Linked DNA regions of Homo sapiens: all the other regions are linked to region 2. Evidence: promoter capture Hi-C in 16 types of primary human blood cells and fetal thymus (Javierre and others, 2016). All regions are on one chromosome and are shown on one strand. Each heading gives the region's core, a stretch centred on a gene start or on the middle of the fragment in contact. The rest is flanking DNA. Distances are from core to core; before and after follow the strand shown. Region 1 overlaps TMEM164 (transmembrane protein 164). Region 2 holds the start of TMEM164 (transmembrane protein 164). Region 3 overlaps AMMECR1 (AMMECR nuclear protein 1).

Evidence for each region. Contacts are between HindIII fragments. The CHiCAGO score rates a contact against its expected background, and 5 or more counts as called.
Region 1: a fragment that was not itself captured here is called in contact with the fragment with the promoter of TMEM164 in region 2 in 2 of 17 cell types (neutrophils and M2 macrophages); the score reaches 9.5 in neutrophils.
Region 3: a fragment that was not itself captured here is called in contact with the fragment with the promoter of TMEM164 in region 2 in 1 of 17 cell types (neutrophils); the score reaches 5.1 in neutrophils.

The regions. Positions count from the first base shown.
Region 1 is chrX:110,151,512-110,155,856 of GRCh38, reverse strand. The region is part of intron 5 of TMEM164 (transmembrane protein 164); the gene reads right to left. Among named protein-coding and RNA genes, the nearest start is that of SNORD96B, 71 kb to the left of the region's middle. The HindIII fragment of the contact is 797 bases long and covers 2,164-2,960 here.
Region 2 is chrX:110,001,222-110,005,503 of GRCh38, reverse strand. It overlaps TMEM164 (transmembrane protein 164), which reads right to left and starts at 2,390. Exons shown (of 7, transcript NM_032227.4): 1 at 2,326-2,390; 2 at 1,340-2,003. The coding sequence starts at 1,729. RefSeq lists an enhancer at 1,528-2,183 and a silencer at 2,286-3,145. The HindIII fragment of the contact is 10,429 bases long and covers 1-4,282 here.
Region 3 is chrX:110,192,036-110,196,236 of GRCh38, reverse strand. AMMECR1 (AMMECR nuclear protein 1) reads left to right here. Exons shown (of 6, transcript NM_015365.3): 6 at 1-2,051. Among named protein-coding and RNA genes, the nearest start is that of SNORD96B, 31 kb to the left of the region's middle. The HindIII fragment of the contact is 2,640 bases long and covers 990-3,629 here.

The sequences.
Region 1 (4,345 bases), core at 1,313-3,812, 150 kb before region 2:
TGAGGCCAAAGAGATGGACAAGAATCAGACTGTGAATGGTCTTGAATGCTATGCAAAGAAGTTTGGTCTTCATCCTGGATGGGATTTTTAAGCAGCTGAGCAAAATCAGATCAGATTTCCTCTTTCCTTAAAATGGTCACTCTGGAGACTGTATAGAGGATAGCCTGGGTAGGAGGTAGGGGAAATCAGGGGGCAGGGAGAGGAGAGAGGAAGCAAAGTAGTCCTGGTAACAGAGGCTGAGAGCCCACAGTCGGACAGGGGTGGTGAGGATGAGGAGGAAGGGCCAAATTTGCAAACAATTTTGAGAATTTAAACTGTCAGAACTTCTGAACTGATTGGTAAATGGGAAGACGCAGAGGAAGAGATCTAGGATGTTGCCTACATTTTTTGCTTTGGTAGTGGATGGAGAGTAGAGCCACTAACCAAGACAGGAAACAGAGGAGGAAGACAAGCAGGATGAGAGAAGGGGTACAGAAATGAGGAGTCTAATTGTTATTTTTGAAGTACCTGTACTGCTTCTCAAGCCTGTGTTATCTCTATTGATGAAGAACACCAGGATCTATGGGGCAGGCAGAGCAAAAGAGCCCAAGGAGAAAGAACCAGAGAAGTAGGAGAACCAGGAGAAAGAGGTACCCTGGAGCTCAAAGGAGAAACAAGTGTCTCAAAGGAGGGAGGACCAGTAATGTTACATCCACTGACAAGCATGCTCTCAGTTCATGCAAGGTTCTGCGGCTTTAGAACACAGCAAGGCACAATCCTGACCTCTAGAGACGGCAGTCTAGTTGGAAGAAAGATGAATAATTAACACAAGGCAGAACAGTGGGTAATTAATAATTATACAAACCCAATACATAGTATTTACTATGTGCCAGTCATTGTTCTGTATACTCTTCATGTATCAGCTCAGTGAATCCTCATAACACCCTATGAGGTAGGTACTATTACTACCCTCATTTTGCAAGTGAGAAAACAGACACAGAGAGGTCAAGGTACTCGACCAAATGCCAGAACTAACTAGCAAGTGGGATAACTAGGATTTGTACCTACAGTCTGTCTGAATCCAGCGACTCCATGGACAGGCAGCATAGAGGCATCTCTGCCCACCTGGTTTCAAACACCAGTTTAAACTCTAGTGCAGGCCAGGCACAGTGGCTCATGCCTATAATCCCAGCACTTTGGGAGGCAGAGGCAGGCGGATCACTTGAGGCCAGGAGTTCCAGACCACCCTGGCCAACATGGTGAAACCCTATCTCTACAAAAAATGCAAAAACTAGCCGGGCGTGGCAGCATGTGACTGTACTTCTAGCTATTCTGGAGGCTGAGGTGCGAGAATTGATTGAACCCGAGAAGCAGAGGTTGCAGTGAGCCAAGATCAGGTCACTGCACTCCAGCCAGGGTGACACAGTGAGTATCTGTCTCAAAAAAATAAAAATAAAATAAACTCTAGTAAAGGGACTCCTAACCTTGGTGGTACTATGCACTCCTTGGGCAGTCTGGGGAAGTGTAAAGGCTCTCTCTCAGAATAAAGTATTTAAGTATACGAAATAGAATATATAGGATTATAAAAGAAAATAATCATGTTGAACTATAGTTATCAAAATGCTTTTAAAAGGCACATCTGTTTTTAAATTTTGAGGTAATGATGAATGCCAATGATTTTTTGAGATATCTGCAACAACTCTAACATAAGAGGAAAATAAGTGTAATTTACATTAACAACAGCATGCCAAGTGCTGCTAATGTAACTGTGGTTTGTTATCTACATTCCTTACTAAAGGATATACCACAAAGTCGGCCCTCCATATCTGCAAGTTCCGCATCTGTGGATTTGACCAACCACAGATCAAAAATATTTTTTAAAAATGAAAATAACAATAGTAAAAAAAAATACAAATAAAAAACAGTATAACAACTATGTATATAGCATTTACATTGTATTAGGTATTATGAGTAATCTAGAGATGATTTAAAGCAGGGATGTCCAATTTTTTGGCTTCCCTGGGCCACATGGGAAGGAGAATTGTCTTGGGCCACGCATAAAATACACTACTGATAGCTGATGAGCTGAAAAAAAATTTTTTTCAAATATAATGTTTTAAGAAAGTTTACAAATTTGTGTTGGGCCACATTCAAATCCATCCTAGGCCACAGGTTAGACAAGCTTCCTTTAAAGTATACAGGAGGATGTGTGTAGGTTAGATGCAAATACTACGTCATTTACATTAGGGACTTGAGCATCCTTGGATTTTGGTATTTGTGGTGGGGGAAGTCCTAGAACCAATTCCCCATGGATACCGAGAGATGACTGTATTTCAGTTGCAGTTAATGGACATAAAGATGTGATTATTTTTCTCATTCAAGGTCATGGGCCTCACGTGATGTACTCCCATAAGTCTAGTGGACACTGTGGGAATTAAATGAGATCAAGATCACACATGTAACAAACCCAGTGCCTAGTAAACATTAGCTTGTAAGATGTATAATAAATTATGTGCAATTTGCAGTACAGGAATACATCCCTGAATAGAAGGTCATTCATTCATTCATTCATCACCTACATACCAAGAAGAAATGAAAAATTCCTGTCCTCAGGGAGACCAGCATGTAAAGACTATACTGTGAGGATGACAAAAATGGGAGGAACAGAGGCAGCTGGCGGGAGCTGGGGTAGAATAGTTACAGAGGGCTTCTTGGAGAAAGTAACTACTGACATGAGTTTTGACAAATGAATGTTTCTAGGCCCACAGCTGGAGAAGAGCATTCCTGGCAGAAATCACAGCATTTTCAAAGGCACAGAGGCATGAAAATTGGATAAAATACTCAGGGAACCCCAAGGATTTGGGTATCACCACAGTGTACAGTATAAAGAAGGGAGTGTAAAGACATGAGGTTGGAGAAGGGGTTGGGTATCAGGTCATACGGTCTTGTGCACTGGGGAAGATGGGGGGCCACTGAAAGCTTCCAAATGACAAAGAGCTATGATCCTATTTGAGCTATAGAAGTAGCTCCAGGAATGGGCTTAGGGGGAGCAAAGGAGGCTGGCTGGAGAGAGATCACACAGAGCCAATTATCATCATTGAGGGAAGAGATGTGCAAGGCTTGGCCCAAGGTACTGGTCCTAGAGATGGTAAGGAGAGGATGAGTCTGAGAGATATTTAGGAGGTAAGAGCAGGAGGACCCAGTGATTTCTCCACACAGCAGCCAATATGATCTTCTCCACAAGCAGATTGGATCATGTTGGACTATTTAATAAACAGTGTGGGGACAAATGGGAAGCCAGCTGGAAATAAAGTTGGATCTTTATCTTGCACTGTATATCAGGATATATTCCAAGTGAATAAAAGACTTAAATGTAAAAAATAATAATAAAAGGAACTATAAACATACCAGAAGAAAATATGGGATATATATTTTTTATAACCTTGGAGTAGTAAAGGGCTTTCTAACCATGACTCTAAATTCAGATGCCATAAAAGATAAATTACATAGAAAGGTAAAAATTCAGCTGGGCAGGGTGACTCATGCCTGTAATCCCAGCACTTTGGGAGGCCGAAGTGGGCAGATCACGAGGTCAAGAGATCAAGACCATCCTGGCCAACATGGTGAAACCCCGTCTCTACTAAAAATACAAAAATTAGCCGGGCGTGGTGGCACGTGCCTATAGTCCCAGCTACTTGGGAGGCTGAGGCAGGAGAATCGCTTGAACCCGGGAGGCGGAGGCTGCAGTGAGCTGAGATCACGCCACTGCACTCCAGCCTGGCAACAGAGTGAGACTACGTCTCAGACAAAAAAAAAAAAAAGAAAAGAAAAGAAAAAAAAAAGAAGAAGAAAAAGAAATTTTAAAATCCTGCATGGCAAGAATAAAACATTAGCAAAGTCAAAAGAAAACACAACTGAGGACAATATCTGTAGCTCATATCATAAAGGGTAAACTGTTAATATTTATATGTAACAAGCTCTTAGGATTCAAATTTTGTAAAAAGGCCAACACAATTGAACAATGAGCATGTGATAGGAGCATGTAGTTCAAGGAAGAGGAAATCAAATGCCAATTTTATTTTATTTTATTTTGTTGAGACTGAGTCTCACTCTGTTGCACAGGCTGGAGTGCAGTGGCACAATCTCGGCTCACTGCAACCTCCACCTCCTGGGTTCAAGCGATTCTCATGCCTCAGCTTCCCGAGTACCTGGGAATACGGGCATGCGCACCACCACACTTGGCTAATTTTTGTATTTTTAGTAGAGAGGGGGTTTCGCCATGTTGGCCAGGCTGGTCTCGAACTCATGACCTCAGGTGATCCACCCACCTCGGTCTCCCAAAGTGCTGGGATTACAGGCTTGAGCC
Region 2 (4,282 bases), core at 1,141-3,640:
AGCCTGCAATCAAATGAGTTCCTAGGAACACAGTGCAAGCAAGTATCCAAGCCATGGGTAGACAGTGTGGTGCTCATCTGCCTGAGTCTTCCCACAGGACTGCCCCACCACCCACTGCCACCCTCACTTTGGGGTTGACAGCTTGCAACCTCAAGGTGGATGAGTTTGCTTTCTAACCCAGGCACTAATTCATCTTCTGGCTGCAAGCAAATGACCTGCCATTCCTAAACCCCTCCAGGCCTGTAAAATGGAGATAATAATCTCAACCTCCTGCCCCAAGCTAGGCTGTCACAAGTCTCCAAAGAATAACCTTCTACAAACATAAAGGCAGTAAAGATGCTAATGACAGGTTTCAAAACTGCCCCTGAATAAAACACACCCGGTTTTCCACAGCCTGAAATCTAAAAAAGACTGATTGCTCTCCCAGTCTCCTCTTCCTCCTCCTCCATGATTTTATAGCTTTAGAACATCTCTCCACACAGGCTGAATACAGACAGTCTCACTCTTGGTCCTCACCCAGATTATTTTTATGTATCTGGCAACTTGCCTTTTCAATCCCATTTGTTTTCCTTAGCACCGCTAATGGGTGGAAGTCGATGAGGTAAAGAAATCAGCTTCCTAAGCACCCTTGGACTATGACCATAGGAGACAGAATGACAGTAATAGGATGGAGAGGTTTGCAAAAAAAGAAATACCCTCTCACCATAGTGATCACCAGCCCAAAGTACACATGTCAGCCTGGGGACCTGCTTCAGAACTCATTTAGTAGGAGCTTGGTGCTGCTCCAATGCCTCAAAATGCAAAGGCAGACCTCACTCTAAGAGCATACACTCCCAAATGAAAGAGTCATTAAGAGAAACCTGTAAAAGTATTTCCCCAAAGTACCACAGTGTAGATGAGAAAGTTTATGCGACCACCTCCAGGAAAGAGTGTCACCAGGCCCCTGGGAAATTAACTACCACAGAAGGCAAGGGAGCTGGGTCATGGTCCACTGATGTGATTCAGAAAGGGCACCTGGCTGGGGCTGGAATTCCTGCTTGTGAAAGCCCAGGGCACGGCAGGGTTGGGCTGGGCTGGAAGGGAGGGGCAGCCAGGGTGAGTGCCAGTCGTTCCTAGGGTTCAGGCACAAGGTTCCTCACCTCCACTGTGGGGCTGACGCACTGTGCAAAGGTGAAAGAAAGCCAAACCTGAAATCGGCACAAAGGCAGCCACTCGTTGGAAAATCATTTTTAAAGGTCCCCCTGCCCGCCGGGATGAGGTGCTGTACACTATGGAGTGTCCTGAGCACATAAATGACTCTTATCACTTAGGATGCCCAGGAAAAAGTCAACAGACTCACATGCATCATGGTGACCAGGTGACAGGGGTTGAGCAGGTAGATGACGGTCTTGGTGGCGAACTTAAAGCCCACCTCCACCCCGAAGGTCAGGCACAGGGCTACTAAGAGCAGATTCTTGCTCAGGCTCTCCTTGCCTTCCTCTGGCCGCTGGGTCACCTGCTCTGGCTGGCTGCCAGGGCTACCCCTACCGTCCTCCTTCGTCTGCCTCAGGATGTGCCGCAGGGCCACCAGGATCTCCAACAGAGCCAGGGTCAGGACCACCACACTTTCCAGCAGCCGCTGCTGCCAAGAGAGGAAGGCAGCACAGTCGGGGCCCCCATTGCCTGCAAAACTGGGGTCCACGCCCCCATAGAGCCAGTCCAGGAGACTCTGGTAGCTATACCGGGACATGATGCAGTGGTTCCCCTTGACCACAGTACAGGAAGCAAGAGTGAGATGGAACACAAGCCCAGAGGGTTGCCCGGGTGGTGGACCATGTAAGGCGGGCACACCCCCACAACCCCCCTCCAGACACCAGGGCACCGAGAGTAGGGGAGGGGAAGCTACACGCAAGGCCCGGGGTAAAGTGCTGGCTCTAACTTGTCCCCACGGCTGTCTGGGGGAGCCCCCCGCGCTTCTCCAGTGGCCACCAACGAGGCAGGGTTGAAAGGAGCCGTTGGCCAATCTAAAAGGAAGGAGAGGAAAAAAAAAAAAAAGAGGTCTCAAAGAGGCAATTGCACCGGGAATTAGGAAGCGGGAGGGGTAACTAGCGAGGGAAGAAAACGGGAACGGGGCAGTGGCGAAGCAAGCAGGGGTCAGGGGAAGCCGGAGGCCGAAAGGGTCAGGGCGGGGGCCAAGGAGACCCGGCAGTGCTGCGGCAGCGAACCGGGAGCCAAAAGGGGTCAGAGCTAGGGGACACGCGGAGGCAAGGAGAGGAGCTAGCGGGGCCGAGCAGGCGGGGAGGGCGACGGGGATGGCAGGGACGCCGGACTCCTCGTCTCACGCACTCGCCACAGAGGGATCTCTTACTCCTGCAACCGCGTGGCCGTCTCTGCCCCCAGCTAGCAACTTCGCCGCCGACGGGCCCCTCCAGCCAATTTAGAGCCGTCCTTGTCCAGCCTCCCGCCCCCGGGTACACCCCCGAACCCCCAGCTCCACCCTCCGGCCCTAGACGCCCGCCCTCCGGGCAGCACCACCCCCAGCCCGCGGCCCGCCCGGGACCTGCCCCCCTCGCGCAGGCAGCGGAGGGAGGAAGCCAGAGGGAAGGCGGGAGGCCGGGCCAGCCGGGGGCTGGACTAAAGCCGGCCCCTGGACTAAAGCCGGCCCCCCTCCCTCCTCCCCGGCGCCGCAACCTCCCGCGCCTCCCGCCCAGCCCCGGGGACCGGCCGCCGCGCCCCTCGGGGCTTCACTCACCGGCAGCTCGGCCCGCGGCCCCGGATCGGGCTACTGCTCCGCTCCCGCGCTCTCCGCGCCGGGCGCTCGGTTCCCCTGGCGGCCGCCGCCGCGGCGCACGGCTCCTCCTCCCCGTCTTCCTCCCCCTGCAGCAGCCGCGCTCGCTTCCTCCTTCTTCCCCTCCCTCTCTCCTCCCCCTCCCCGCTGCCACCGCCACTGCCTCCCTCCTCCCGTCCAGTTCAGCTCTCGCCCCACCACACGCCCTCGGGCCACGACTACTCCTCCTCGCCTCCTTCCCTTTTCTGCCTCTGGCACTCCCCTCACCCGTCCACCATTCACACCTCCCACCCTCCGCGGCTTCGGCTCTCCCTCCTCCTCCTCCCTCCTCCTCCCTCCTCCGGCTCAGGCTCCGCCTCCTTCCGCCTCCTCCCTGGCCTGCCTCGTCTTCTGCACTCGGAGCCTGCACGCGTGCACAGCCACCCTCCTTCACAACCGTGTACAGAATTCGCCCCCTCGGTGAAGCCCTGTTGACTGGCTCCGCCTCCCGCGACCTGGTTCTCCAGGGCACTTCTTTCTATACTGCACACATAGTAGGCACTTAGCTGGCCCGCACTAACTTCTTGTGGGGGAATAAGCCTTTCTAGTAATGAGCAGCTTGGCTTCGGGGTGTGTGCTGGGTATGGCCGGCTCCTCTTCGCGATTCCTCCTTTCTGCCACGACTCATGCAAGGCCAGAAAGGCATCTTCTCTCCCCTTTCTAGCCACAGCCCCACTCCACACTTCAGTGCCTAGGACAGGAGCTTCATTTCCCTGCTCCTCCCCCTCCTGCTCTGATCCACTATTTTCTCTCTACCTCTTGCCACACAGACCACCCCTGCCACACCCTCTCCCTCTCCCACTTCTCTCCTTTCTCCTGACAGGCCTTCAATGGTAGGCCAGTGGGAGGAAGGGAGGCTTCCCGTGACCTCTTTCCCTCCCCCTCTTCCCCCCTTCCCCCTCCCCAGAGCAGTTGCTTCCTAACCTATGCGTGGAAAAGCCAGCCAGGACTATATGAGTGTGGAGGAGCAGCACTAAGCCCAAAACCTGGATAAGGGCAACTGACGGAAATAAAATCCCCTCTTCCTACCTGCTGCTTTTTACCGATCGGCTATTTGCTTTTCTTGAGACAAGGGTCAGTAAAAGGACCTTCTCAGGACCTTCCTCATGTTTATTTAATATTTATTGAAGACTCACGATGAGTTAGAAGAATATCCAGAAAAACACAGTTAGGCACCTTGCCTAGGAAACACTTTTGGATGTTGGCTGCAAGCCAGGCTCAAAACATAAAATGCAATCTACTGTATTATCAGGCCATCGCCCTCCCGTTTTTTCCAAGTCTGGTTTTCCGAACAAGTACAGCCAGGTAGCCTTGTCTGACTCCAAGTTTTGTACAACATCTACCATAGGCCTGATGTTCTCCAAGTGTCAGAGGCGTTAGAACCAGAGCGACTCCATCTTGAACAGGGCCTGGATAAAATGACGCTGAGACCTACTGAGCTGCATTCCCAAAAAGTTAGGCATTCCAAGTCACGGG
Region 3 (4,201 bases), core at 1,060-3,559, 190 kb before region 2:
AAGATTTATTACATACATAGATGTGTGTGTGTACATATACTTACACATACATACATACATATATGTGTGTTTATTTAACGGTGCTAATCAATCTTGAGCAGGTCACGTGACTGGTCATGCGGACTCTAAAATCATATCAGATTTTTTAAAATCCTTGATATATGCAGATGTTATACAGATTTTCTTAGCAGTGTAATAACGTTAAACTGAAGAAATAACCATCCTGCAGGCTTCAAAGGACGAGGTCAGCAATATTTCCCAACATGGCTTGGGGGAAAAGGATAGTTTTGTCTCCTTTTGTATTCAAGTAATGCAAAGTGCATTTTTGTCTCTAAGTAGCTTTTGACTAAAAGACTTTGTAGTGTAAAGGGTGTTATACAAACTGTAATGGTGTGCTTCAAACAAATGCTAGACCCTTTCACCTTTGTCGTATATACAAAGCTGTTAATTATGTGGTATGAATTAACTTTGAACATGTTGAAATATGTAGCATGTCTTTAACTCAGACGAAGATTCTGATTGCACAGGTTGTGTTCTAGCCAGTTGTGATTTATTTGTTCAGAAACACAAATGTGAATTGCACTCTTATCATCAGAATATTGTATGAGTTCAGTGATCTTTAAACAGCTCAGAAGTAATACTTGAACTTCATTTGAGTAGCACAAAGTTTACATAGCCCCTTTTAAATGTTAATTCGTTCCATTTAAGTTTTCCATTTTCAGATGCAACTGGGTATTTTTCCTCTTGGAAATAGTACGTACTTTGCTTTGGTATGTAGCAAAAGGCTTCCATTTCTGGAAGGGTTTTCTTGTTCTTAAACAAGGTCAGCCAGGTACCAGATTCTAAAAGAACAAATTGTCCCCCACCCCTCAAGTGGCCTTCTGACTGCACGAGAATGTGCTACTACCCTCTGTAGTCTCCCCTAACACGAGAGGTCAGTGAAATTGATGGAGGAAGTGCAAGGCTTGCTTCCCCTCACCCTTAAAGCTTAAAGCAGTTGTAAGATTTTCAGTCCAGCACATACAGTCCCAGTGCCCAGCACACCGGAAGTTTGTATACTGGCCTCTTATCTTGTCTTCAAATGTGCAGGAAATTTGAAACTGTCATCTGGAATAGGTTCCATCTCTTATGTGTGTTAGATCAAACCAAAGAAGCCCCCAGCCATGCCCAAATGCTGCTTCAAAAGCCTGCCTTCCAGTCCTTACAAAAACCTTGCAGGATTAAATGTGTTAACTTTTTTATTTTTGTACAGTTTCTAAGTGATTTTTGCTAGTGATGTTAAAATGAATTAAGTTTATTTGAGGGGTGTGAGCACCTCCTCCATTTAAATAAACTGGTGACTTTCCTTTTATTTTTTAAAAGTGGAAACCCGTTGTGTGCCTCTCGATTTAAGGGTTTCTGATGACATTATTCTTAAGACCAGCATTGATCCTTTATATACAAATATATGTTTTCCTTGTTTTTTATTGCTATTTCAGAAGAAAATGAACCTTTTATTTTGCTCTACCCAGTAACTGCGCTGGTACATAGACGCACTGAGCAAACAAACTTTTGTAACCACCTCTGACTACTTTTGTATATCAAAGTTGATTACTTTTGAAATATTTGGATCTAGTTTCTAAGTTATTTTAGTGTTTTATATGTTCCCCAAAATTACTTTGAATCTGTCACCAGCATAATGAGTTCTTGGTGATACAATGGTGAGACTTGTAATGAGCAAAAAGCTACCTGGAGTAGCTCCTCTTTTCCTTCTTTCTTAGTAACCTGTTTTTTGATTACCGTAAGACATCACAGATTACCTGAAACCCCTTCCAGTATAACTAGGCCCTCCTTCCTTCCACATTTAATTGCTTAATAGTTTGAAGAAACTATTGGAAATGGGCATTTTATATGACATGTATGGCTTTACAATATTAAATATGAGCAAAAAGAAAAAATATGAGAAGGTTTATGTGGGTCTGTAAGGTATGGCTGTGGAAAGATATTGTAGTAGTTTTGACACTATTGTTATTACCTTTAAAATCATTTACCCAATAAAATGTTAAAACCGAGTTATCATTTTATGTTTCTTTTTTAAGTTTAACCTCTCTCATCATAGGATCTTGGTCTCGTCGGTACTTCTTACTAAAAGGTTAACAGTTGAAGGCTCTGAAGGAATATAGTTAGGAACAGATACTGATTTATTGCCAAACTAGCACTTGGGAAACCTTACCTGCTTGTAGCCACTCCCTGCCATATGATTTGCCAATGTCATCCTTTTGTCTATCTCTGAATCCTGGCTTGCTGATATAGATTAGCCTTTATTTGGACACCCTAACCTGGCCACATTGATCCTTTAAGGATCCTTCAGATCCTTTGCCACAGAACTCAGGCAAATATCAGACTTGAATTCTGGCGGGAGCTTAGCTGTGCTTAGGTCCGCTCCAAATCAGTCAGTGGTTATTGGGCATTTCCTCTTTGTGAGCTGGTGAGGGGCAGTAGCAGTGCTATTCAGTTAAATCATCTGATATGGGGACCCCTTCTCCTACCATCAAGGCTTGCCCATTTTCTGAGTATAGGACAGAGTCTGAAAATGCTCAAGATGTGGTCACCCAGAGCTTGTACGTACTCATACACACACTAGGCATACCACACGCTTACACTTATTACCAGCTATTTTTTCCAGTTCCAGATTGGTACCCCCAACTTGGGCTTGGGGGAAACACCTGGATTGTAGGGTAGGGCAACTGGTGGTATTGACTTTCAAGGGCCAGATAAGAGCCTATGTCAAGAAAGGAATCTCTTGGGGTGCTGCCTCTGCCTACTGTTGCCTTATCCCTTTCTCTATGGAAAGGCTACCAAGGACATTGTACTTGTGTATGGAAATACCTCTGGCTCTTTCTAAAACATTTGCTGTCTCACGCACATTTCAAGATTAGCTGCTAGTTGAATATATCCAGGACAATTTCTGTTACATTGCCCCAAAGCCCTGGTAACCATGTAAATTTTATGACACGTGCTTATGTCAATCACAGTGGCTAAAAAGTGTTCTTAGATCCTAGAGGACTATTGTGGTTTTAACCAGTGCTCCATAAAGGCAGCCATCTGCTCAGGTTTTACCTATTTTCATCATTCATGTTTAATGGGACATAAGATTTTTCAATGATTTCGACCATATTAATAGGTTCAGGTAGAATGAAGTAGTTTAATGAGCCCACAGCATTCTTTTTTACAGCATTAGTGGTTAACTCTGGTCTGGACAAATTTCAACTTCAGTAATCACACTCCACCTACCTAAATTCTTCCCAGAGTTTCAGCATTTCCACTTTAGATTTCATGCCCCTCTGGACCCTGTGTAAATAGCTTTACTGCTTCCGAGGGCAAGTATGGGCGTGTAGGATGAAGCAGTGCCCCTCTGTTGCTGGGAAATACTACCCTATCTAAGGGGTCCTATCAGTGTGAGGTAAGGAGAAGTCTGCGGTGGAGAAGTCACACCGGGATTCAGAGCTGCCAGCCAGGACAGCCAGTGAATGACTGCCCATTCAGAGAATGGCTTCTCCCACTTCCTGCAGCTTCAACCACATAAGCCAAGATAAGTATGGGTTTGGGTTGGGTAAGCTCTCATAGCTTCCCATCTGTATGCTCAAGCTTTTCACCTACAGGAGGAAGAAATGAATGGGAGGATGCAAGTGAGGAAAGCCCTGGATATACTATTTTTGGCTACTGCATTAAAAGGCCTGCCTTGACACCTGTAGCCCCATGGGACAATCTCGTGTTCAAACCTCAAACTTGTTGGAAGAACTCTTTCAAGAATTGGAGGGAATCACATTAGGTCTCAAGCACTGTTCTGAAGCCAATCTACATCCTCACCCCAAGCGCTTGGTTACAACCTTGTTTAGAAATGACCCCTTAATAAAAATTGCTGTGTATATAATGGGATATTATTCAGCCATAAATAAGATTGAAATCCTGTCATTTGCAGCAACGTGGATCAGCTTGGAGGACATTATGTTAAATAAGCCAGACACAGGAAGGTAAATACCGCATGTTCTCACTCATGTGCGAGCTAAAGAAGTTGATCTCATAGAAGTGGAGAGTAGAATAGTGGTTACTAGAAGCTGGGAAGGGTTGGGAGAGTGAAAAGGGAGAGGTTGGTTAAAGTAGGGATCCCCAACCCCCGGGCCGTGGACCAGAACTGGTCCGTGGCCTGTTAGGAACGGGG